Regions from separate parts of the Homo sapiens genome. Here all the other regions are linked to region 1. The links are contacts of gene promoters, found by promoter capture Hi-C in blood cells and fetal thymus (Javierre and others, 2016). All regions are on one chromosome and are shown on one strand. The core of a region is centred on a gene start or on the middle of the fragment in contact, and the rest is flanking DNA. Distances in the headings are between cores, read along the strand shown.

Region 1 (6,681 bases), core at 3,894-6,393:
GGGTCTCTTGAGCCCAGGAGTTTGAGACCAGCCTGGGCAACATAGTGAAATCCCATACTACAAAAAATTAGCTGGTTGTAGTGGTGCACACCTGTAGTCCCAGCTACTCGGGAGGCTGAAGCAAGAGGACCGCTTCAGCCGGGGAAGTCAAGGCTGCAGTGAGCCAAGATCATGCCACTGCACTTCAGCCTGAGCAACAAGAGTGAGACCCTGTGCCAAAAAAACCCCTCAAAAAACCATGTTGGGAGGGCTGATCAGATTAGGGGAGGAAGGTCATTTGTGCAGGAAAAAAAGCAGTTCTAAGCCTCACTGGTTTCCAGTGGTGGCCAGATTTGAACTCAGCTTGCCTTTGGCCCTGACCCCAGCTCAACCCATGGGTGGTGGGTCAGAGGGAGGGCCTCTGTCCCCAGGCAGTGCTTTTGGGGGTTCCTCCAGCTTCTAGTCCTTTCTTGCGGCCCCTGTTTTGTTCTTCTCTAGCAGTTGCCCGCCATGTTGGGCCCAGGGCCAGTCCTGTGGGTCTGTTTGCACACTCAGGACACAGACTTGGATGTTTGTGGAGCTCCTGGTTCACAGGGGGCTCTGGACTTGACCAGGGGAGTCCCTGAGGCTGTGCAGCCCTTTGGGGTCTCACGCCTTCCCCCCGCCCCATTCCCCCAGTGAGCAGCGGTTCCATCGCAGTGAACGCCGACTCTTCGGTGCAGTTGTTGGCCGAAGAGGCCGTGACGCTGGACATGTTGGACCTGGGGGTGAGTGTCAGAGGGGACCTGAGGCTCAGCAGGTTGGAGCTGTCCAGGCTGCGGGGGAGGGAGCGCTGGGGGACCAGGAGCCGGGCTGGGGTCGCTGCTGGCCCCTCACCGCCCCTCAACCCCTTGCAGGCAGCCAAGGCAAACTTGGAGAAGGCCCAGGCGGAGCTGGTGGGGACAGCTGACGAGGCCACGCGGGCAGAGATCCAGATCCGAATCGAGGCCAACGAGGCCCTGGTGAAGGCCCTGGAGTAGGCGGTGCGTACCCGGTGTCCCGAGGCCCGGCCAGGGGCTGGGCAGGGATGCCAGGTGGGCCCAGCCAGCTCCTGGGGTCCCGGCCACCTGGGGAAGCCGCGCCTGCCAAGGAGGCCACCAGAGGGCAGTGCAGGCTTCTGCCTGGGCCCCAGGCCCTGCCTGTGTTGAAAGCTCTGGGGACTGGGCCAGGGAAGCTCCTCCTCAGCTTTGAGCTGTGGCTGCCACCCATGGGGCTCTCCTTCCGCCTCTCAAGATCCCCCCAGCCTGACGGGCCGCTTACCATCCCCTCTGCCCTGCAGAGCCAGCCGCCAAGGTTGACCTCAGCTTCGGAGCCACCTCTGGATGAACTGCCCCCAGCCCCCGCCCCATTAAAGACCCGGAAGCCTGACTGTGTGCTCGGCTCTTGTTCCTCCACCTGGCCCGGTGAAGCCGGGAGCGTCCTGGGCCCCTGCTCACGTCCTCCATGTCCCTTGCAAATAGGGCCTTTGAGCTCCCCTGGACTATGTCCCTTAGGGCACCTGGAGGTCCGTAGGAAGCAGGCTCGAGGGGGTGGGTGGGGTGCAGCCAGGCGGGCAGGCTGCTGACCTTCACCCTACAACGGTGGGGAGGGTGAAGGTCACCAGTGATGGGGACATCGGTCAGGGAGGGGTGTCCCTGCTGCTCCTGGCGCCTCTGCCGAGTTCCTGGTCTCCAGGCCTTGACCCTGAGCCCTGCTGGCCCTTGGCCCTGCCCACCAGCCTCTGGAAAGAGGCGGGCCCCACCCGCTCCCACGCTGGCCCCGCCCTGTGCCAGCCGGTCCTGTGGGTGGCCCTGCCTGGCCGGGTGCCGAATCTGCAGTGTTTTTGGCACCTCCGTGGGCACCTAGGCTTCTGGGTTGGCCCCAGATGGAGTGGGGTGGGCCCAGGAGGGGGCGGCTCCCTGGCACTGCCCCGTTGGGCCTGCCTCTTCTCCTTTCCATAACCCTGGGGGCGGGCAACACTGGCTCCAGCTGGTGTGTGGACGGCGGGGGCTGGGGTCTCCTGACCTCCTCCCTTCCTTGGGACAGGGCCCTGTGCAGTGGGGTAGGCAGGGAATTCCAGGGGGGTGAGTGGGGAGGGTGGGCCTGCCTGTGTCACTGGAGCTGGGATGGTGACAGAGAGGCCGCCCCGGGCCTGTCAGCACGGACGGGCAGCTCACTCCCACGTCATGGCACTATGCGGGTGACTTGCCACAGCTTCACTTGAGGCGAGGTGCCGTTGGGGGCCTTGCGACTCTGAGGCCGCCGGTCAGCAGATCAGGTATTCTGGAACAGCCCACGGTCCCCTGCCTGGCTCCCCCTCCACTTGGGCCTCGGGACACGAGTGACCAGGCCCCCACTTCTCCAGGAATCCGCAGCCCAGGGAAGGTTGTGTCAGCCACCAGGCCACAGGAGCAGCCTCTGCCCAGGCCCCCCCTCCCCCCCGCCCCCAGTTCCAGCCCCAGGTCTTCAAGTTCCTGCCAGGCCACCAGGACCCTATAAATAAGACCAAGGGCACAGCTGGGACTTAGCAGGGGCCCAGCGGGAGGAGCTGCTCACTCCGGGGACCTCCCCTGCCCCCACCACCAGGGAGGGTGTGAACCTTGGAGCCAGGCCTCAGGACACCCGAGACACCTGACACTCGGAGGGAACAGCCCGTGCTGGCTGGATGCGTCCTGGAGCAGGAGGCAGTCAGGGTGGGGCCGGGAACCAGGCGGTCAAGGCCCTTCAGTGAGGGCAGCCCCTGGCTTAGTGAGGCAGAACAGAGCACAGGGTTTGTCCCCATCACACCCAGGAACAACCCACTCAACCATGGGGACGCCGAGTATGGGAAATGGTGGGGAAGCGTTTTAGCATGTTTATTCATTTAGACTGGCTCTGGGCATCTGGTCCCCAAAGGGCCACACAGTGGCCCCTGTGAAGCCCAGCAAGTTCCGACAACCCGTGTCCCATTCCACTCCCGACCAGACTGAGGTGATGGTGTCCATTCCACTCCCGACCAGACTGAGGTGACGGTGTCCATTCCACTCCCGACCAGACTGAGGTGACGGTGTCCATTCCACTCCCGACCAGACTGAGGTGACGGTGTGCAGGTGGCAGAGCCACACACGAGAGGCAAGAGGCAGGGAGGGAGGTGGGGGCTGCTGGCCACTCACAGGGGGCCCCAGTGTCCTGCTTGGGCTGCTCATTTGGCACCAGTCCACGGCTCCCTCCGCCACCTTTGTTCTCACTGGAAGCAGAATGAGCCTGGCCCTGTAGTTCCCACCTGGGGCCCCAGCCCTTCATCCAAGCCCCATTCATCGACCCTGCCCCTCCTCCCTCCAACTGGGTCCAGTTCACTAAGCTCCCAGAACTGCTCAAGCCATTCCCACTTCCTGGACCATCGTCTTTTTTTTTTTTTTTTTTTTTTTTTTTTGAGAGGAGTTTCGCTCTTATTGCCCAGGCTGGAGTGCAATGGCACAATCTCAGCTCACCACAATCTCCGTCTCCCGGGTTCGAGCAATGCTCCCGCCTCAGCCTCCCAAGTAGCTGAGATTACAGGCGCACATCACCACGCCTGGCTAATTTTTGTGTTTTTAGTACAGACAGGGTTTCACCATGTTGATCAGGCTGGTCTCGAACTCCTGACCTCGTGATCCGCCCGCCTCGGCCTCCCAAAGTGCCAGGATTACAGGCATGAGCCACCGCGCCCGGCCTTTTTTTTTTTTTTTTTTTTTTTTGAGACGGAATCTCGTTTTGTCGCTCAGGCTGGAGTGCCCTGGCACGATCTGGGTTTATTGTAACCTCCGCCTCCCGCGTTCAAGCGATTCTCCTGCCTCAGCCTCCTGAGTAGCTGGGACTACAGACACATGCCACCATGCCCAGCTAATTTTTGTATTTTTAGTAGAGACAGGGTTTCACCATGTTGGCCAGGCTGGTCTCAATCTCTTGACCTTGTGATCCGCCCGCCTCGGCCTCCCAAAGTGCTGGGATTACAGGCGTGAGCCACCGCGCCCGACCGCATCATCTTTTTTATGTGACAAACTCCTAGTCATTCCTCAAACCGCAGCCCCTGTGACCCCCTTCCAAGGGTTATCCCAGCCTCTCCCTCTCTGGCCTAGCCCTGACCCTTCGGGGCTGGGTGTGCCTGTCAAGGTGGGGGCCACGGCTGCCGGGAGCATGGGTGGCAGCCGGAAGGAGACCTGGGGAGGAGCGCAGCCCTGGGAGGGGCGCCCATGGCCAGGGTGGGGGTGGAGGTGGTCAGGCCAGATAAAGGGAGGGGCCAGATGAGTGGACAGGAGGTGCTCCCGTAGGAATGGGGTCCCCTTCTCTAAATAGAGGGGCAGGACGGGGCCCACCTCAACCAGGACCATCCTCAAAAAGCCGACGGGGAAGGGTGAGATGCACACCACATTCGTGTCTCATTGGCTGTGGCCTCAGTTTCTTCATCTGTAAAATGGGGTAATGCCCACCCCAAAGGCTGGGAACCAGTGCATGTCCTGCATTAATGGGGGGTGATGGCCCCAAAGTGATCCTGCCGCATCCCCTCACCACACTCCCACCCACCCTGGAGAAACTGAGGCTTGGAGAGGCCAGTTACCTCCCGGGGTCACAGCATAGCCGGCTGGTGACTGGCTGGGCACAAGGCAGGCCTGGCACTGGCTAATCGCTCCATAAATGCCCTCTGAGGTCACCATTGACAGATGCAGGAGGCCAGGGCTGGCCAGGGCACCCCCACTCTACGGCAGGTGACTCCAGCCTGTTTTCCTGGACGACAGCCGCTGACTCAGGCCCCTCTTCCCGTCCCCCCCACGCGGGCGCCCCCAGGCGGAAGCACCGGGCCTGGGGCGACAGGAAGGGGGCGGGGCAGCGAGTCGCGCTGTACACCCCAAAACCCTGTCCCGCTGACGATTCGGGGTGCATCTCAGCCCGCGGCGAGGCGGGCCGAGACCCTTGGCTCGGGGCATTCAAGGGGAGTCCCCCCATGAACTGCGCCAAGCCTGGGTCCCGGGTGGCCCAGCCGTCAAGGCGCCCCAGGGCCAGGGCCGGCAGGCAGGGGCGGGGGCCAGTCTGCGTCACCGCCCGCCCGGCCCCCCGCCCCCCTGCCCGCCCTAACTCCACCCCGAGGGAAGGCGGCGCGGATAAAGGCTGAGGGCCGCGCGCTTGGCCCAGACCGGCCCGGCCAGCGCGCATTCGGCCCCGGACGAAGGTACTCGCAGCACTTGGAGCGCAGAACCGGCCGCGCCCGGTGAGTGTGGAGGGGGGGGACCTGCGGGCCGAGGAAGGGTGCCCACTCTAGATGGCTCAGGATGCCCGCACTTTTCTTTGTTCTTGGGACAGGAGGGATCGGGGAGCCTCCGGTCCTGGGAAGCCCCCCGGGGTGCGGGGTGGGAGGGGCTCCGCGCAGCCAGCGCCGCCCTGGCCGGACCTCAGCCCCCGCCCCGCCCCCCGGGGCACTCCCCCTTCACCGCGGGTGACCTTGAACTGGTTGCCGTTCCGCCCTCCGTTGCCCAGCCACACGGTCCCAGTCTCCCGACTACAGTCTTTCGTTCCCGATCGGGGTTCCTCCCCCGCGCGCAGCCCAGTCGTCTTCCTCCCCTGCCAGGGGCAGCGCGGCGCCCCCTCCCCGGGACTCCGGGCGGCGCTCCCAGGCGGGCCCGGCAGAGGGCGCGCCCGAGCTGCTGACTCACCGCATCCCCGAGCGCGCGCGGGCGCAGCCGGGGACGCCGCGTCACGTCACGGCTCGAGCGGGCGCGCCTCGGGGAAACGGGTTCTGCCCGCGGCCGGCGGGTGGGCGCGCGGGGCCCCCGGCGGCAGCCACCCGGCCACGTCACCGAGGTGCGGGCGCCCCGCCCCGGCCACAACTCCGCCCCCACGCACCACGCCCTCCCCGGGGCCGCGGCCCTAGCCTCACCGTCGCCCGCCCGCCCCGGGACCCCGGCCACGAGGCGCGGACTTCGCGCTCCCGCTTCCGCTCGCGGCTTTTCCCGGACGAAGGCGGCGGGGTGGCCCCACGACTTCCTGCCCCTCCCGGCGCCGGGAACAATGGCCCGCGCCCCCTCCCGCTCCCGGCCGCTCCCTTGGGATCGCGAGGGGTACCAGACCCGTCTCCAGACCTGGGTCCCGCGCCCCCCGGGGCGCGCCCGCCCTTTGTTGCGGGCTCCGGGCGCTTATGAATGGCTGCGGGCGCGGGCGGGGCGGGGGCGGGCGCGGAGAGGCGCCAGCCCCGCCCCCGCTGCGCTCCCCTTGGTCGCCTGGGCGCTGGGGGCGGGGCGAGGGGGCGGGCCCGGCTGCCACGTGGGGCGGTGCCGCGGCGGCTCTCATAGGCCCGGGCTCGCGGCCGACTGGGCGCTCGGCGCGCGGCGATTGGCCGGCGCCCGGCCGGCGGAGTAAGTAGTGAATGGGAGGGGGCGGCGGCCCCGCCCCCTGGAACGTTGATACATTATAACTTTTTTTTCTTGTTACTTTCACCCCCAGATCCTCCGAGCGGCGGCGACGGCTGTTGCTAAGGGAGGGGACGCGCGAGGAAGCGCGACCCGGGCGGCAGACGGCACCCAGCGCCACCAGCCGAGCGGCGCCCCCTCCCCAGGACCCTTAACCGCGCCGCGTCCCGGTCGCGCCCGCCGCCCTTTGAAGGAGAAGCAAGTGCCGTCCCCACCCCCGGAAGGCGCCCCCAGGAGCCGGAGCGACCTCGGAGCGCCACTCGGA
Region 2 (4,320 bases), core at 1-2,500, 490 kb before region 1:
AGGCCTTCAACAAGCCCCACCTGGCCAACGGGCACGTGGTTCCCATCAAGCCCCAGGTGAAGGGGGTGGTCAGGGAAGAGAACAAGGTGCGTGCTGTGCCCACCTGGGCCAGTGTCCAAGTTGTGGATGACCCTGGCTCCTTGGCCTCAGTGGAGTCCCCGGGGACCCCCAAGGAGACGCCCATCGAGCGGGAGATCCGTCTGGCTCAGGAGCGTGAGGCAGACCTGCGAGAGCAGAGGGGGCTTCGGCAGGCAACCGACCACCAGGAGCTGGTGGAAATCCCCACCAGGCCGCTGCTGACCAAGCTGAGCCTGATCACAGCCCCACGGCGGGAGAGAGGGCGCCCGTCCCTCTACGTGCAGCGGGACATAGTACAGGAGACACAGCGTGAGGAAGACCACCGGCGGGAGGGCCTGCACGTGGGCCGGGCGTCCACACCCGACTGGGTCTCGGAGGGTCCCCAGCCCGGACTCCGGAGAGCCCTCAGCTCAGATTCCATCCTCAGCCCGGCCCCAGATGCCCGTGCGGCCGACCCAGCTCCAGAAGTGAGGAAGGTGAACCGCATCCCACCTGATGCCTACCAGCCGTACCTGAGCCCCGGGACCCCCCAGCTAGAATTCTCAGCCTTCGGAGCATTCGGCAAGCCCAGCAGTCTCTCCACAGCGGAGGCCAAGGCTGCGACTTCACCAAAGGCCACGATGTCCCCGAGGCATCTCTCAGAATCCTCTGGAAAACCCCTGAGCACAAAGCAAGAGGCATCGAAGCCCCCTCGGGGATGCCCGCAAGCCAACAGGGGTGTCGTGCGGTGGGAGTACTTCCGCCTGCGTCCTCTGCGGTTCAGGGCCCCAGACGAGCCCCAGCAGGCCCAAGTCCCCCATGTCTGGGGCTGGGAGGTGGCTGGGGCCCCTGCACTGAGGCTGCAGAAGTCCCAGTCATCTGATCTGCTGGAAAGGGAGAGGGAGAGTGTCCTGCGCCGGGAGCAAGAGGTGGCAGAGGAGCGGAGAAATGCTCTCTTCCCAGAGGTCTTCTCCCCAACGCCAGATGAGAACTCTGACCAGAACTCCAGGAGCTCCTCCCAGGCATCCGGTGAGAAGGGGCTCCAGGGAGTGGCTGCTTGGCTCAGGGTCTCAGAGGTTGGAGCAGGGGAGGGTGGGGAGGTGGAGTTTGAGGCTGTCAAAGGGCTGGGGTTGGGGAGACATTGCCTCCTGACTGTTCATCCCCTCAGTCGCTGGTTTGTCTGCCTGTCTATTAAAAATGTAGATTTTGGAGAGAAATGTCAACTTTACCTTAGGGCTTTTGCTTTATGGATTTGGATGCCTTGTTGTTAGGCGCATAAATGTTCATATATGTTTTGTGTGTTTTGTTTTTGTTTTTGTTTTTTGTTTTTCGGTTTTCTTTTTTGAGACGGAGTCTCGCTCTGTCGCCCAGGCTGGAGTGCAGTGGCAGGATCTCAACTCACTGTAACCTCCACCTCCTGGGTTCAAGCGATTCTCCTGCCTCAGCCTCCTGAGTAGCTGGGATTACAGGTGCCCACCACCACTCCCGGCTAATTTTTGTATTTTTAGTAGAGACAGGTTTCATCATGTTGGCCAGGCTGGTCTTGAACTCCTGACCTCAGGCGATCCACCCTGCCTTGGCCTCCCAAAGTGCTGGGATTACAAGCATGAGCCACTGCTCCCGGCCTGTTCATATATGTTTATCCTCTTGGACAGTTGCACCTTTTTGACAATATGAAATATTCCTTGTGTCACTTTTAATGTTTTTTTTTTTTTTTTTTGAGATGGAGTCTCGCTCTGTCACCCAGGCTGGAGTGCAGTGGCGCGATCTCGGCTCACTGCAAGCTCCGCCTCCCGGGTTCACGCCATTCTCTCGCCTCAGCCTCCTGAGTAGCTGGGACTACAGGCGCCTGCCTCCACGCCTGGCTAATTTTTTTGTATTTTTAGTAGAGATGGGGTTTCACCGTGTTAGCCAGGACGGTCTCGATCTCCTGACCTCGTGATCCACCCACCTCGGCCTCCCAAAGTGCTGGGATTACAGGCGTGAGCCACCGCGCCCGGCCACTTTTAATGTTCTTCACCTTGCATGTCGGCCCATCTGTGCATCCAGTTTCTCCTGACTGGCTACTTTGGTCAATCTGTCAGTTTCCCGGATAGTCATCTGCTCTGTCTGTCCATACATCTGTCTCCTTAGCTGCTGGCTAGAGACTCTGTCTCCCGAGCAGAGGTCTGACAAATGTTCTAATGTTCTGCCCTCCCTGCTCCCCTACAGGCATCACGGGCAGTTACTCGGTGTCTGAGTCTCCCTTCTTCAGCCCCATCCACCTACACTCAAACGTGGCGTGGACAGTGGAAGATCCAGTGGACAGTGCTCCTCCCGGGCAGAGAAAGAAGGAGCAATGGGTGAGTCTGGAACCCGTCTCTGCAGAGGCCAGGCTGAGGTCAGACAGCCCCTATTAGGGCCACAGGAAGTTCAAGCAGGACTCAAGCCTGACCTGGGTTCAAGCACTACCCCCACCCCTGGCCGTGCCTCAGTCTCCTGCAGATGTCAGGTAGAAGATGATAAACTTGGTGTCCTTGTATCTCTGGGCTTCTGCTTGGAGAGGCCATATAAGCTGGGGTCTTTGTCCCCATCAGGAGGTCATCTCCAGGATCAAAGACCAAAGGACCAACTCTGCTTGGAGGAGGAGGACACTGGCAATTTGTCATCGTCACCAGCATTAGTTTCTTTTTTTTTTTTTTTTTTTGAGACGGAGTCTCACTCTGTCGCCCAGGCTGGAGTGCAGTAGCACGATCTCGGCTCACTGCAACCTCCACCTCCCGGGTTGAAGTGATTCTCCTGCCTCAGCCTCCTGAGTAGCTGGGATTACAGGCGTGCACCACCACGCCCGGCTAATTTTTTTGTATTTTTAGTAGAGACGTGGTTTCACCATGTTAGCCAGGCTGGTCTCAAACCGATCTCAAGTGACCTGCCCACTTGGGCCTCCCAAAGTGCTGGGATTATAGGCATGAGCCACTGCACCTGGCCACAGATATTTACTTCTAAGAAAGAGAGAGAGAGAGAGAGAAGGCAGGAGGGAGGGAGGGATGGAGGGAAGGAAGGAACAAAGCGAGGAAGGAAGGGAGGGAGGGAGAGGGAGAGACGGAGGGATGTGTCTGTCACACGCTGGCTCGGGGCTTCCAATGAACCACACCTTTAGCACCCTGGTGGTCTCACATGCCCAGGGTTAGGCAGCTCATGAACCCAGGCTTGACTCCAGGACCTACAGGCCACAGAGCTTTGCCTTAGGGGTTTTACTTTATGAATTTTGATGCCTTGTTGTTAGACATGTAATTGTTCATGTATGTTTATCCTCTTGGATGAGAGCTCCTTTTGTCAGTATGAAATATTCCTCACGTCACTTTTAATGACACGAGGAATATTTAGTGCCATGAGGAATATTATGTCCTTTTTTTTTTTTTTTTTTTTTTGAGATGGAGTCTCGCTCTGTCACCCAGGCTGGAGTGCAGTGGCACGATCTTGGCTCACTGCAACCTCTGCCTCCCGGGTTCAAGCGATTCTCCTGCCTCGGCCTCCCGTGTAGCTGGAATTACAGGTACGTGCCACCACTCCTGGCTAAAGGGAGGCTGCTAGGGAGGCTCCATCCGGGAGGTGGAGGTTGCAGTGAGCCGAGATCGCACCACCGCACTCCAGCCTGGGTGATAGAGCAAGACTCAGACCCAATATAAATAAATAAATTAATTAATTAAATTAAATAAATCATGAATGTTGGACAGAGGCTGCACTGAGGGGAACAGCATGAGGAACAGCAAGGGGGATGGCTGTGAGTCTGGGTGATCGTGGGACACGTGTTGAGAACACTCAGGGCAGGGGATGCCTTCCACTCTTCCCCAAATGGTGACAGAGAGGGCTGTGTGGGAGCTCTGGTCGGACTCTGCACCGGGCAGGGCAGAAAGGCCTGGGCTGACTTGTGTTCCTTTCCTGTAGTACGCTGGCATCAACCCCTCGGACGGTATCAACTCAGAGGTGAGTATGCTCCTGGGCACGAAGACTCAAGTCTTTCCCCCCCACATCTGTGCCCCTGCACACAGGGGCCAACGGAAGCCCCTTCCTCCAGGTGTGGGGATCGTATTGGGTGTCTTCTCAATTGGTAGTGTCTGCTCAGGGTGGATTTTGCTGTGATCTGCTTGTGATGTCTGCCATGGGCATGGATTAGGAGAAGAGGGTTCACATGCCACCTCTCCACCACGTGGTGAAGGTTTGTGAGGTTAGACCCCAAACAAAGGCAATGTTGCTTTTTTTTTGTTTTTGTTTTTGTTTTTG
Region 3 (6,681 bases), core at 1,341-3,840, 410 kb before region 1:
TACTTGGGGGGTTGAGGCAGGAGAATTGCTTGAGCCCAGGAGGTCGAGGCTGCAGTGAGCCATGATTACACCACTGCACTCCAGCCTGGGTGACACAGCCAGACCCTGTCTCAAAAAATATATATGTATATTTTAAAATATTATATATTATATAATGTAAATAATATACATGCTACATATTTTATGTATACATCTATGTTATATACATTAATATAGCCAGGTGCAGTGGCTCACACCTGTGTTCCCAGCACTTTGGCGGGATTACGGGCGGGTCACCTGAGGTCAGGAGTTCGAGACCAGCCTGGCCAATATAGTGAAACCCCGTCTTTACTAAAAATACAAAAAAAAAAAAAAATTAGCCAGGCGTGGTGGTGGGCGTCTATAATCCCAGCTATACAGGAGGCTGAGGCAGGAGAATTGTTTGAACCCGGGAGGCGGAGATTGCAGTGAGCTGAGATCGCACCACTGCTCTCCAGCCTGGTGACAGAGCGAGACTCTGTCTCAAAAAAAAAAAAAAATCCAAAGGGGAAAACAGTAACTGGACAGTGCAGGAACCGGCAGATGCCCTGACCACGTGGTCAAGGTTATTACCATCAGCACGAGACAGGCCGAAGCCATGGGCTTCGACGTGGGGGGCCTGAGACAGACACACGCCACGCCCGGGACTCCCTCCATTGAGTCCTGAGGCCACCCAGGACCATCCCCACGGAGGGACGCTCTGCAGAGTGACCACCAGCTCTCCTCAATGGTCCCAAGGGCTGAGGGAGGGCAGAGGGACTGCGCCCGCTGGAGGAGACCCTGACATCTGAAGATGGGTGGCTTGTGTACCCAGGACCCAGCAAAGGGTGGCTGGTGATACTCAGGGGGCTGGGGCAGAGGGGGCCATTTGGAATCAACTTTCGCGCCCTGGCTTCGATCACAGCCTGGAGGGTTGAGCAAGAGGACAGAATTTAGGGAAGCTGGGGGAGGGAGGCCGGGGGAGGGAGTTTGGGGAGCGGGGAGGGAGTTTGGACCCTTTGGACTTCTGTAAGCGTGAAATCCTTTCCAAATGAAACGTTAAAAAGCTTTTTTTCTTTTTGGCCTCCAAGTTCATTCAGTGCTTCTCTCCATTTCACTGTAGGTTTAAACCGTTCAGTTATAAATAAATAATTTTATCCTCTGTCCTCGGCTTTCCCCCGTTTCCGGCACTGCAGACATGGGGGCTGGATTTGTCTCTGCGGCGGGGCCATCCTGGGCACTGCAGGGCCCTGCCAGGAGCTCCCTCCAAGTCGTGACAACCACGGATGTCTCCAGGCCTCACACAGGGACCCCTGGGGGCAGAATCACCCCAGGGTTAGAGGATTCCACAGACCCCAAGAGACTCTGAGTCCCATGATCCTCTGCCCTGCTGAGGTCCCAGGAGGCTGCACACATTGAAATCCACACCCTGAGTGGGAGGGAGAGAGGAGGCGAGTCCCGGGAGCTGGGGTCCCCCGGGTTTATGCCGTACGCCCCATCGGGAGTTTATTCTGGTGTCCGGTGTGAGCAGGGGGCAGACTGGATTTTTTATTTTTTATTTTTATTTATTTATGTTTTGAGATGGAGTCTTGCTCTGTTGCCCAGGCTGGAGTGCAGTGGCACGATCTTGGCTCCCTGCAACCTTCGCCTCCCAGGCTCAAGTGATTCTCCTGCCTCAGCCTCCTGAGTAGCTGGGACTACAGGCGCCCGCCAACACGCGCAGCTAATTTTTGTATTTTTAGTAGAGATGGGGTTTCACTATGTTGGCCAGGCTGGTCTTGAACTCCTGACCTCAGGCGATCCACCCGCCTCGGCCTCCCAAAGTGCTGGGATTACAGGTGTGAGGCACCGCACCTGGCCATTTTTTTCCCCAAATAATGAACACTGGTCTCTCCCCTGGGCCCTGTGGACATCGGGGCTGGATCCTTCTCTGGGGCAGGCCCGTCCTGGGCACTGCAGGGTGCTAGGCATCATCCTTGGCCTCCACCCACTCCATGCCAGGAGCTCCCCTTTCGTGACAGCCACAGGTGTCCTCAGACCTCGCCCAGGGTCCCCTGGGGGCAGAATCACCTCTTGATTGAGAATCCTGGCCTTAAAGGGGGAAGAAAACCCCCAGACAAAACTGGCAGGAGGATGTTCGCTGGGGCCTCAGGTGAGGCACTGAGGGCACTCGTGGTGGGGCCCTGCCTTCCCGAGCTCTGCATCCTGTCCCCTGCTACGTCCTGCTGTCTGTCCGTTTCCAGCTCACCCACCCACGGGACACACCTGCCACGGCCGGCTTTGCTGGGGCCACAGGGACCTCGTCAGGGAGGCGTCTCCTTGTGGGTGGCACGTGGGCATGTGTTGCTCTGAGGGCTGTGGCCATGTTGCCCACCTGGCCAGGGACCCCCGACTTGGGTGGGTGACAGCCAGCCTCCCCGCCCCCACAAAGGTTGGGACCTTGAGCCCAAAGCCCCCACCTCCTCCCCGGAGTCCGTTCTGACTCCCAGGCTCCCAAGGCAAAAGGAGGAAGTGGGGACCCAGCCTGGGCATTGGGCAACTCAACGGCCTCTGGCATTGGGCTATAAGAGGAGCTTGACCGTGGGTGCACCCTGGACCCCACCATGGCTCACCGGCCCCCCAGCCCTGCCCTGGCGTCCGTGCTGCTGGCCTTGCTGCTGAGCGGTGAGTGAGCCACGTGCCCATCCATCCAGCCTCCAGGCCCCGGTGGATTGTGGGGAAATATCCACCACGAGGTCCATCCAAAGCCCTTCTGGCACAGCTGGGGAAACTGAGGCAGGGTCAGGGGAGACTCCACTCACTGCTCGGGACCAACGCTTGCAGGGGTGGGGAGGACAAGGGCAAGGGGGAGCCCTGGCCATTTGACTCAGTTGCCTATCTGTAAAACGGGCAAAACCCAGCCCTTCCCTCCTGAGGAGCTGTTTTGGGAATTAGCTAGTAACAGGCGAATTCCTGGACAGCACCCAGCCTTCAGCAAATGCTCAGTGAATATGCATGAATGAATGAATGAGTGAATGAATGAGTGAGTGAGTGAATGAGTGAACAAATGAATGAGTGAATGAATCAATGAGTGAGTGAATGAATGAGTGAATGAGTGAATGAGTGAACGAATGAATGAGTGAATGAATCAATGAGTGAGTGAATGAATGAGTGAATGAGTGAATGAATGAGTGAATGAGTGAATGAGTGAACGAATGAATGAGTGAATGAATGAATGAGTGAGTGAGTGAAAGGGTCGAGGAGTTAGTGATGCTGGAATCAGGGGAAGAAGAGAGCATGGGCCCCCTCAGGTCCCTATCCTGAGGGTGATTTTCTTTTTCTTTTTCTTTTTTTTTTTTTTGAGACGGAGTCTCGCCCTGTCGCCCAGGCTGGAGTGCAGTGGCGCGATCTCGGCTCACTGCAAGCTCAGCCTCCCGGGTTCACGCCTTTCTCCTGCCTCAGCCTCCCGAGTAGCTGGGACTACAGGCGCCCACCACCATGCCTGGATAATTTTTTGTAATTTTTGTAGAGACGGGGTTTCAAGGTGTTAGCCAGGATGGTCTCGATCTCCTGACTTCGTGATCCGCCTGCCTCAGCCTCCCAAAGTGCTGGGATTACAGGCGTGAGCCACCGCGCCTGGCCCTTTTTTTTTCTTTTTTGAAACGGAATCTTGCTCTGTCGCCCAGGCTGGAGTGCAGTGGTGCAATCTCAGTTTACTGCAGCCTCAGCCTCCTGGGGTCAAATGATTCTCCTGCCTCCGCCTCTTGAGTAGCTGGGATTACAAGCACACACCACCACACCTGGCTAGTTTTTGTATTTTTAGTAGAGATGGGGTTTCACCACGTTGGTCAGGCTGGTCTCGAACTCCTGACCTGAGGGGGATTTTCAATGCCTCAGTTTGTTCATCTGCAAAATGGGTCTCTTTGTTGGCTGATTTTTTTTTTTTTTTTTGCTTCTTTTTTTTTATTTTGTTTTGTTTTGTTTTTTTGAGATGGGGTCTCACTCAGGCATGAGCCACTGCGCCCAGGATTTTTTTTTTTTTTTTTTTTTTTTGAGACAGAATCTCACTCTGTTGCCCAGGCTGGAGTGCAGTGGTGTGATCTCGGCTCACTGCAACCTGTGCCTCCTGGGTTCAAGCGATTCTCCTGCCTCAGCCTCCCAGGCAGCTGAGATTACAGGTGCGAACCACCACACCTGGCTAATTTTTTTTTTTTTTTTTTTTGAGACGGAGTGTCATTCTGTTGCCAGGCTGGAGTGCAGTGGGGCGATCTTGGCTCACCACAACCTCCGCTTCCTGGGTTCAAGCGATTCTCCTGCGTCAACCTCCGGAGTAGCTGGGACTACAGGCACGTGCCACCACGCCCAGCTAATGTTTGTATTTTTAGTAGAGACAGGGTTTCACCATGTTGGCCAGGATGGTCTCCATCTCTTGACCTCAGGTGATCCACCCACCTCGGCCTCCCAAAGTATTGGGATTACAGGCGTGGGCCAACCGCACCCGACCAATTTTTCTGCTTCTTTAAAAACATTTTTTTAAATTTTGTTTTAGAGACAGGGTCTTGCTCTGTTGCCCAGGCTGGAGTGCAGTGGTGTGATCTCAGTTCACTGCAGCCTTGACCTCCTGGGCTCAAGCGATCCTCCCTCCTCAGCCTCCCAAGTAGCTGGGACGACAGGTGCACACCACCATGCCTGGCTAATTTTAAAATTTTTTGTAGAGATGGGGTCCTCACAATTTTGCCCAGGCTGGTCTTGAACTCCTGAGCTCAAGGGAGCCTCCTGCCTCGGCCTCCCAAAGTGTTGGGATTACAGGCGTGAGCCACTGCACCCAGCCACCTGGTCTGCGTCTTAAAAGCCTTCCTGACTCTCAGGACTGAAAGCTGCCACCAGGGCGCCTTTGGAAATCGTCGTAATTATAACCCCCCCGGCCTGGGCGCTGAGTCCTTCCCACCAGCCAGCAGGCACTGACCGGGTTGCAGATCGGGAGACGGAGGCTCGGAGAGGCCCAGGGGCTGCTCTGCCATCCCCCCTTTCCCTGCAGCCTGGGGGCTCCCTGACGCCTGGACTCCCCCCCTGCAGGTGCTGCCCGAGCTGCGGAGATCGTGGGCGGGCACGAGGCGCAGCCACACTCCCGGCCCTACATGGCCTCCCTGCAGATGCGGGGGAACCCGGGCAGCCACTTCTGCGGAGGCACCTTGATCCACCCCAGCTTCGTGCTGACGGCCGCGCACTGCCTGCGGGACATGTGAGCGGCCGCCTCCACACCCCTGTCCGCCCGCCCCGCCCTCTTCCTCCAGCCCTGGCCCGGCCACTGTCCCTCTGCCCGGGGAGGACCCAGCTAAGCCCCGTCTGCAGACCCCAGGCCCCGCGCGCGTGGGCAGTTCTGGGGGGAGGCCCGGGGCAGGGTCGCCGAGGGAGGGGTCTGGGGCTGCACCGCGGCCTCGGGAAGGGCCGGCTGTGGGCGGCGGCGAGTGTCCAGGGCGCCGAGGAGTGACCACCCCACCCCCGCAGACCCCAGCGCCTGGTGAACGTGGTGCTCGGAGCCCACAACGTGCGGACGCAGGAGCCCACCCAGCAGCACTTCTCGGTGGCTCAGGTGTTTCTGAACAACTACGACGCGGAGAACAAACTGAACGACGTTCTCCTCATCCAGGTGGGCGGGCAGGGCCGCGAGGGCTCGGAGGGGCACGGCCAGAGGGCTCCGGGACCCCCATTCCTGCAGCCAGCATTCATTGAGCACCCACTGTATACCGGGCCACGACCGAGGCCGCTGCAGCCTGGGTCCAGTGGCACTGGCCGGGGGAGACCGCTCCTTGGACACCAGGCCACTCCTCCTCCCCGCCTCTCCCCCGCCCGCGCCTCTCCCCCGCCCGCGCCTCTCCCCTGCGCGCCTCTCCCCCGCCCGCGCCTCTCCCCCGCCCGCGCCTCTCCCCCGCCCGCGCCTCTCCCTTGCCCGCCCCTCTCCCCTGCCCGCGCCTCTCCCCTGCATGCCTCTCCCTTGCCCGCCCCTCTCCCCTGCCCGCGCCTCTCCCCTGCGCGCCTCTCCCCTGCCCGCGCCTCTCCCCCGGCCGCTCCTCTCCCCCGCCCGCGCCTCTCCCCCGCCCGCGCCTCTCCCCTGCGCGCCTCTCCCCTGCCTGCCCCTCTCCCCTGCCTGCGCCTCCGCCCGGTGTGCTGTTCCCCCAGAAAGCCAGGTGCCCTCGCCTCCTCCGGCGCCTCCCCTGACCTCACTGGAAGTGGCGAGGACAGCCACAGCCCTCCCCGATTCACTGTTCTCCACTGAACCGCGTGCTCCTCTCATTCATGGGGCCCTCCTAGCCTCCTCCCACCCAGAAAGATCAGCTCCCCAGGGCAGAGGATTTTTGTCTGTGTTGTTCGTTATTGGACTCATGTGGCTTAGAACGGGACTGGGCATACAGGTGGTGCTCAGTAAGTGCTTGGGGCTGGGCACTGTGGCTCACGCCTGTACTCCCAGTACTTTGGGAGGCTGGGATGGGAGGATCACTTGAGGCCAGGAGTTTGGGAGCAGCCTGACCAACCTAGTGAGACCCCATCTCTATAAAAGACATTTTTTTTTTTTTTTTTTTTAGACAGAGTCTCACTCAGTCATCCAGGCTGGAGTGCAGTGGTGCAATCTCGGCTCACTGCCACCTCTGCCTTCCAGGTTCAAGTAATTCTCCTGCCTCAGCCTCCTGAGTAGCTGGGATTACA
Region 4 (4,906 bases), core at 501-3,000, 350 kb before region 1:
CACCACGTGAGGCTGCTTAAGTGTCTCTGAGGCCACCATGCCACCTCCTGCCTGTGCCTTCCGTGGAGGAAACTCCTACACACCCTGCAGTGCCCGCCTTCGTTGCCCCCGCCCTCCTACTCAGGGCCCTGGTGCCGCTGTCTGTATCCTGCCCTGTTTCCCCTGACACGACCTGCACCGGGTGAGAACCTGTGCCTGGGAAACGGGCCTTCAAAAAAGACCAGGCAGGTAGAAAAGGGAGGCCCGGCAATCCCCCACTCACCATGGGGATGCGGCTGCGCTTGAGGACGGCTCGCAGACGCCGGCTGATGCGCTGGAAGCACTCGCGGGGTGTATAGGCGGGGTCCTCTGCAGGAGTGGGGGAACAAGGGGCAGTCTTGGGGTGCTCGTCCTGGCCCTGCCCACCTGCCAGACCACGCCCACCCAGGGAAGACCACGCCCATCTGTGCCTTGGCCTCTCCTGCCCACCAAACCACACCTTCAACGATACTGTGGCCCCATCCAGCCAGCAGACCCTACCCCCACGAGGCCCTGACCCCAACCCATCCAGCTGACCCTACCCTCACCTGTATGTTCACCCCAGCTAGACATGAGGCCCCACCCACTCCAGGCCCACACAAGCCAGCTAGCCCCACCCCTACCCACTGCCATCCAGATCCTGCCCCCACATGCTGGCCACATCCACTCCATGTCCCGCCCCATCCATATCCTACCTACCCCATCCTGGCCCCACACACCCCATTGCCCTGTCCCCATCCATACCCTGGCCTCACCCACACACTAGGTCCAACCCACTCCAGGTCCCGCCCACACCCCATCCATATCCTGCCCCCCATCGCGGCCCCACCCACCCCAGGCCTCGCCCCCATCCCCCATCCATACCTGGGCCCAACATACTAGGTCCAACCCACTCCAGGTCCCGCCCACACCCCATCCATATCCTGCCCCCCCATCCCGGCCCCACCCACCCCAGGCCACGCCCCCATCCATACCCTGGCCCCACCCATACCCGCCCCAGCCAGGCCCGCACCTCTCCTCCGGTCCTCCCCACGGCCAGGGCCCCTCCTCCGCGCCTTGCTCCTGCCCTCATCCTCCAGGTAGCGAAGAACCCGCTCCTGCTCCTCCCCGGAGCGGTTCATGAAATCGTTCCAGACCTGGAAGAGAGGCAGGGAGGCAGGCTTGCCATGAAACACTGGGGCTGCGCTGACATCCCCGGGCAAATGGGCACGGTAAGGCCGCCAAGCACGTGGACGCGCTCCTGCGGTCACCTCTGTCCACTGAGGGGCCGCTGCTTGTGTCGGGCCCTGAGCTGAGCGCAGGGAAGCGGGGAACCGGGGTGGGCCCAGCTGTCTCGGGGTGGGGGGGATTGAGGTGAAACACTCCTGCAATCGTTGGAGGGTTCCCAAACGTGTTGGGCAGGTGAATCCAGGAGCTCGAAGGTTCCAGGGGTGGGGTGGGGATTCTGGCCTGGTCTGGGGACCCCGAAGGAGACTGAGGGGCCTTCATTAGGAGATCAGAAGTGGGCGGGTGCTTCTGGCGGGGGACGGGCACAGGCGATGGCCTGGCCGTAGGAGAACTGCCGGGGTCCCCGTGTGGAGGGAGTGAGGGGGTTGGGGGCCACACCTCCACATAGGTGGCGTTGTTGCAGGCCTCGGCAAAGATGCCTGGTGATGCAGGGGGTGCCAAGTCCCCATCCTCCAGGCCAGGCAGGCCCCCGTCTGTCTCCAGCAGGGTCAGGAGGTACTGGGCTAGGTGGAAACAGATGCTCTCTGGGCCGGGGTGGCATTTGGGGACCCCCAGGCACCATGGGGACCCAAGAACTAGCCTTCCTCCTTTTTTATCATCTCAACCTCCGCACCTCCATGCTCCAACTGTCTTCCCCAGAAGGTACAGAGACCACCTAGACCCCAGGTTCTGGATTGTCGAACTCCTATATATCCTTTAAAGCCCCAGCTCCAATGCCCGGGGCGCCCTCCCACCCAGCCCTGATCCAAGAGTCCAGGGGGCGCCTGTGTCTGGCTCTATTTATATGGTCCCCCGGCCTACAGCTGACACCTCTTTGGGTCCCCAGCCCCACCCAGGCACAGCTCATGGGAGGGGTAACAGATAACACCAATATGCATGCCATTCTACAAGGCCCAGGAGCCCCCAGGAGGCGCCTCCCGACCCCTGCTCACTGTTCTCCAGGCGCTGGAGGCTCTTCCGCCCCTTGGCCTTGGGCACGAGGTCTGAGTTCCGCACTGCCTGGTTGATGAAGTGCTGTTTCCGCCTGGAAGCCGAGAGTCTCTTCACCTGGGAGCTGGCTAGGGCAGGCAGGCAGCTGGGAAGGGGCCTGTGGGCCGGGGCAGGGGTGGTCCTCAGGGTCAAGGCCGGCCAGGATCTCCGAGAAGGGCCCTACCACAGCCATGGCCCGCTTGGTTTCCCCCAGCAATGGAGAGCTCACCCCTACGGTGTGTGAAGTCCTGGGCCCTTAAAATCCTATTTTGTTTCATCCTCACATCACAGGAAGCAGATACAATTGTGAAGACGGGCTGGGTGTGGTGGCTCATGCCGGTGATCCCAGCATTGTGGGAGGCTGAGGCCGGTGGATCACTTGAGCTCAGGGGTTCAAGACCAGCCTGAGCAACATAGCAAGACTATGAAAAAAAAAAAAGACTTATTTTTTTGTCTCTACAAAAAAAAATAATAATTAAAAAATTAACCGGTGTGCTGGTACATGCCTGTAGTCCCAGCTACTCAGGGGCCTGAGGCAGGAGGATCACTTAAGTCCAGGAGGTCGAGGTTGGCATGATGGCACCACTGCACTCCAGCCTGGGCAACAGAGCAAGACTGTGTCCAAAAAAAATAAAAAAAATTAGGTCAGGCACATTGATTCATGCCTGTAATCCCAGCACGTTGGGAGGCCAAGGTGGGTGGATCACTTGAGGTCAGGGGTTGAAGACCAGCCTGGCCAACAGGGTGAAACCCTGTCTCTACCAAAAAAAATACAAAAATTAATCAGGCGTGGTGGCGTGCGCCTGTAATCTCAGCTTACTCAGGAGGCTGAAGTGAGAGAATCGCTTGAACCCGGGAGGCAGATGCTCCAGTGAGCTGAGATTGTGCCACCGCACTCCAGCCTGGGCGACGGAGTGAGACCTTGTCTCAAAAAAAAACAAAAAACTGTGATGATAGATTAGTAAACCGAGGCTCAGAGAAGTGAAGACACTTGCCCAAAGTCACACAGCAGGTGAATGACCAAGAAAAGCTGCCGCCCACCCCCAACCCCAGTGTTCAAGGTGTTAGCTGTAAGCCAGCAAGGCCCACAGCCTTTGGGACGTGAACAGCTTCCTTCAGAAATGGAGAGTCAAGAAACTTGATTTTATCCACATCCCCCACTCCCAGCAGCAGAGGAGCCAGAAAACAGCCCCAGAAGCTCAAGGTGATGCCTCAGCCCCCCCCGCAAACCCCCCCCTTAATGTCCCCTGTCCCCAGGGCCAGGAGGAGAGTGCGGCTGCAGCGGCCCCCCTCCAGAGCTAATCGGCCTGGCCGGAGCAAATGGCATTAATTGTGGAGATGGATTAGCTGTCACAGCTGGGCCTCCCACCGAGAATCCAAGGGCCGAGCCACTCAGTGTGGGGGGAATAGGCAGCCGCCTGGGAAGCGGGTGGTTGGACAGGGTGGGGGTAAGCGCGCACCGCAGCCACCGGGCACCCGGGAAGCGGGCGGCGTTTGGGGGGAGGTAGGCGCGCACCGCAGCCACCCGGCACCTGGGAAGCGGGCCGGTGAGGGGGGGCCTCATGGATGGGGACTTTTCTGGCAAGGAAAAACCACACAAACTGGGCGTGGGAGCTCATGTAATCCCAGCACTTTGGGAGCCCAAGGTGGGTGGATCCCTTGAGCCTGGGGAGTTTGAGGCTGCGGTGAGCTGTGACTGCAATACCGCGCGCTCCAGCCTGGACAACAAGAGCAAGACCGTGTCTCAAAACAAACAGGACGGGCGCGGTGGCTCACGCCTGTCATCCCAGCACTTTGGGAGGCCGAGGCGGGCGGATCATGAGGTCAGGAGATTGAGACCATCCCGGCTAACACGGTGAAACCCCGTCTCCACTAAAAATACAAAAAAATTAGCCGGGCGTGGTGGTGGGCACCTGTAATCCCAGCTACTCGGGAGGCTGAGGCAGGAGAATGGTGTGAACCGGGGAGGCAGAGCTTGCAGTGAGCCGAGATCGTGCCACTGCGCTCCAGCCTGGACGACAGAGCGAGACTCTGTCTCAAAAGCCAAACAAACAAAAAACCGTAATGCTAGCTCCACTGGGCTCACAAACCCCCACACCACAGGGCTGACCATGGCCTCCAGGGTCTGGGGGTACCAGGATCGGCTCCACCCTTATCTCCTAACTCCACCCCACCTGAAACACATTCTGCTCCAACCCCACAGTGGCACCTCCTGGCCGCTGCTGCTTCCAAGACACGATTTCCCGTCCCGCCTCGGACCTTCGCACAGGCGGCTCGGGTTTGCTGGCTGGCTGTAACCCCCACCGCCGGCACTCACAGCCAAGCCTCGTTCACAGGAGACGCTCAGAAAAATAACCACCAAATCAATCCTCAATAAAAATTCTGTGATTCCAAGAGAGCCCACAGTCGAAAATCCCTAATAGCATCCAGAGTTCCCAACACAAAAATTAAAAGCAACCCACTCCACCCCTGCAACCCCCAAAAGACTGGAAAACGCTAGGAAACTCTAGGCCAGTTGAGACAAGATTCACTCGAGGCAAGCTGGGCGCGGTGGCTCATGCCTGTAATCCCAGAGCTTTGGGAAGGTGAGGAGGAAGGACAGCTTGAGGCCAGGAGTTCAAGATCAGCCTGGGCAACATCACGGTCCCCGCTGCTCAGGAGGCTGAGGAGGGAGGATCACTTGAGCCCAGAA

The links. Contacts are between HindIII fragments. The CHiCAGO score rates a contact against its expected background, and 5 or more counts as called.
Region 2: a contact is called between a fragment that was not itself captured here and the fragment with the promoter of MIDN in region 1, in 2 of 17 cell types (monocytes and activated CD4 T cells). The highest score is 5.9, in monocytes.
Region 3: a contact is called between the fragment with the promoter of PRTN3 here and the fragment with the promoter of MIDN in region 1, in 2 of 17 cell types (naive CD8 T cells and monocytes). The highest score is 5.1, in naive CD8 T cells.
Region 4: a fragment that was not itself captured here is called in contact with the fragment with the promoter of MIDN in region 1 in 2 of 17 cell types (monocytes and activated CD4 T cells); the score reaches 10.0 in monocytes.

Annotation. Positions count from the first base shown.
Region 1 is chr19:1,243,440-1,250,120 of GRCh38, forward strand. MIDN (midnolin) reads left to right here and starts at 5,144. Exons shown (of 9, transcript NM_001388306.1): 1 at 5,144-5,221; 2 at 6,451-6,681. It overlaps LOC102723811 (a long non-coding RNA gene), which reads right to left and starts at 4,633. Exons shown (of 2, transcript XR_007067082.1): 1 at 4,574-4,633; 2 at 2,829-4,422. It overlaps ATP5F1D (ATP synthase F1 subunit delta), which reads left to right. Exons shown (of 4, transcript NM_001687.5): 3 at 658-746; 4 at 876-1,386. The coding sequence ends at 998. RefSeq lists silencers at 889-1,048, 4,598-5,137, 5,228-5,687, 5,748-5,867, 5,898-6,367 and 2 more and enhancers at 1,249-1,408, 2,540-3,285, 5,221-5,754. The HindIII fragment of the contact is 31,339 bases long and covers 1-6,681 here.
Region 2 is chr19:757,641-761,960 of GRCh38, forward strand. MISP (mitotic spindle positioning) reads left to right here. Exons shown (of 5, transcript NM_173481.4): 2 at 1-1,086; 3 at 2,269-2,399; 4 at 3,985-4,023. Among named protein-coding and RNA genes, the nearest start is that of MISP, 8.7 kb to the left of the region's middle. The HindIII fragment of the contact is 9,837 bases long and covers 1-4,320 here.
Region 3 is chr19:838,409-845,089 of GRCh38, forward strand. It overlaps PRTN3 (proteinase 3), which reads left to right and starts at 2,591. Exons shown (of 5, transcript NM_002777.4): 1 at 2,591-2,661; 2 at 5,053-5,218; 3 at 5,485-5,626. The coding sequence starts at 2,601. The HindIII fragment of the contact is 23,301 bases long and covers 1,063-6,681 here.
Region 4 is chr19:899,799-904,704 of GRCh38, forward strand. It overlaps R3HDM4 (R3H domain containing 4), which reads right to left. Exons shown (of 8, transcript NM_138774.4): 2 at 2,178-2,332; 3 at 1,624-1,748; 4 at 1,031-1,154; 5 at 263-348. Among named protein-coding and RNA genes, the nearest start is that of RNU6-9, 8.8 kb to the left of the region's middle. RefSeq lists an enhancer at 4,261-4,906. The HindIII fragment of the contact is 8,648 bases long and covers 1-4,906 here.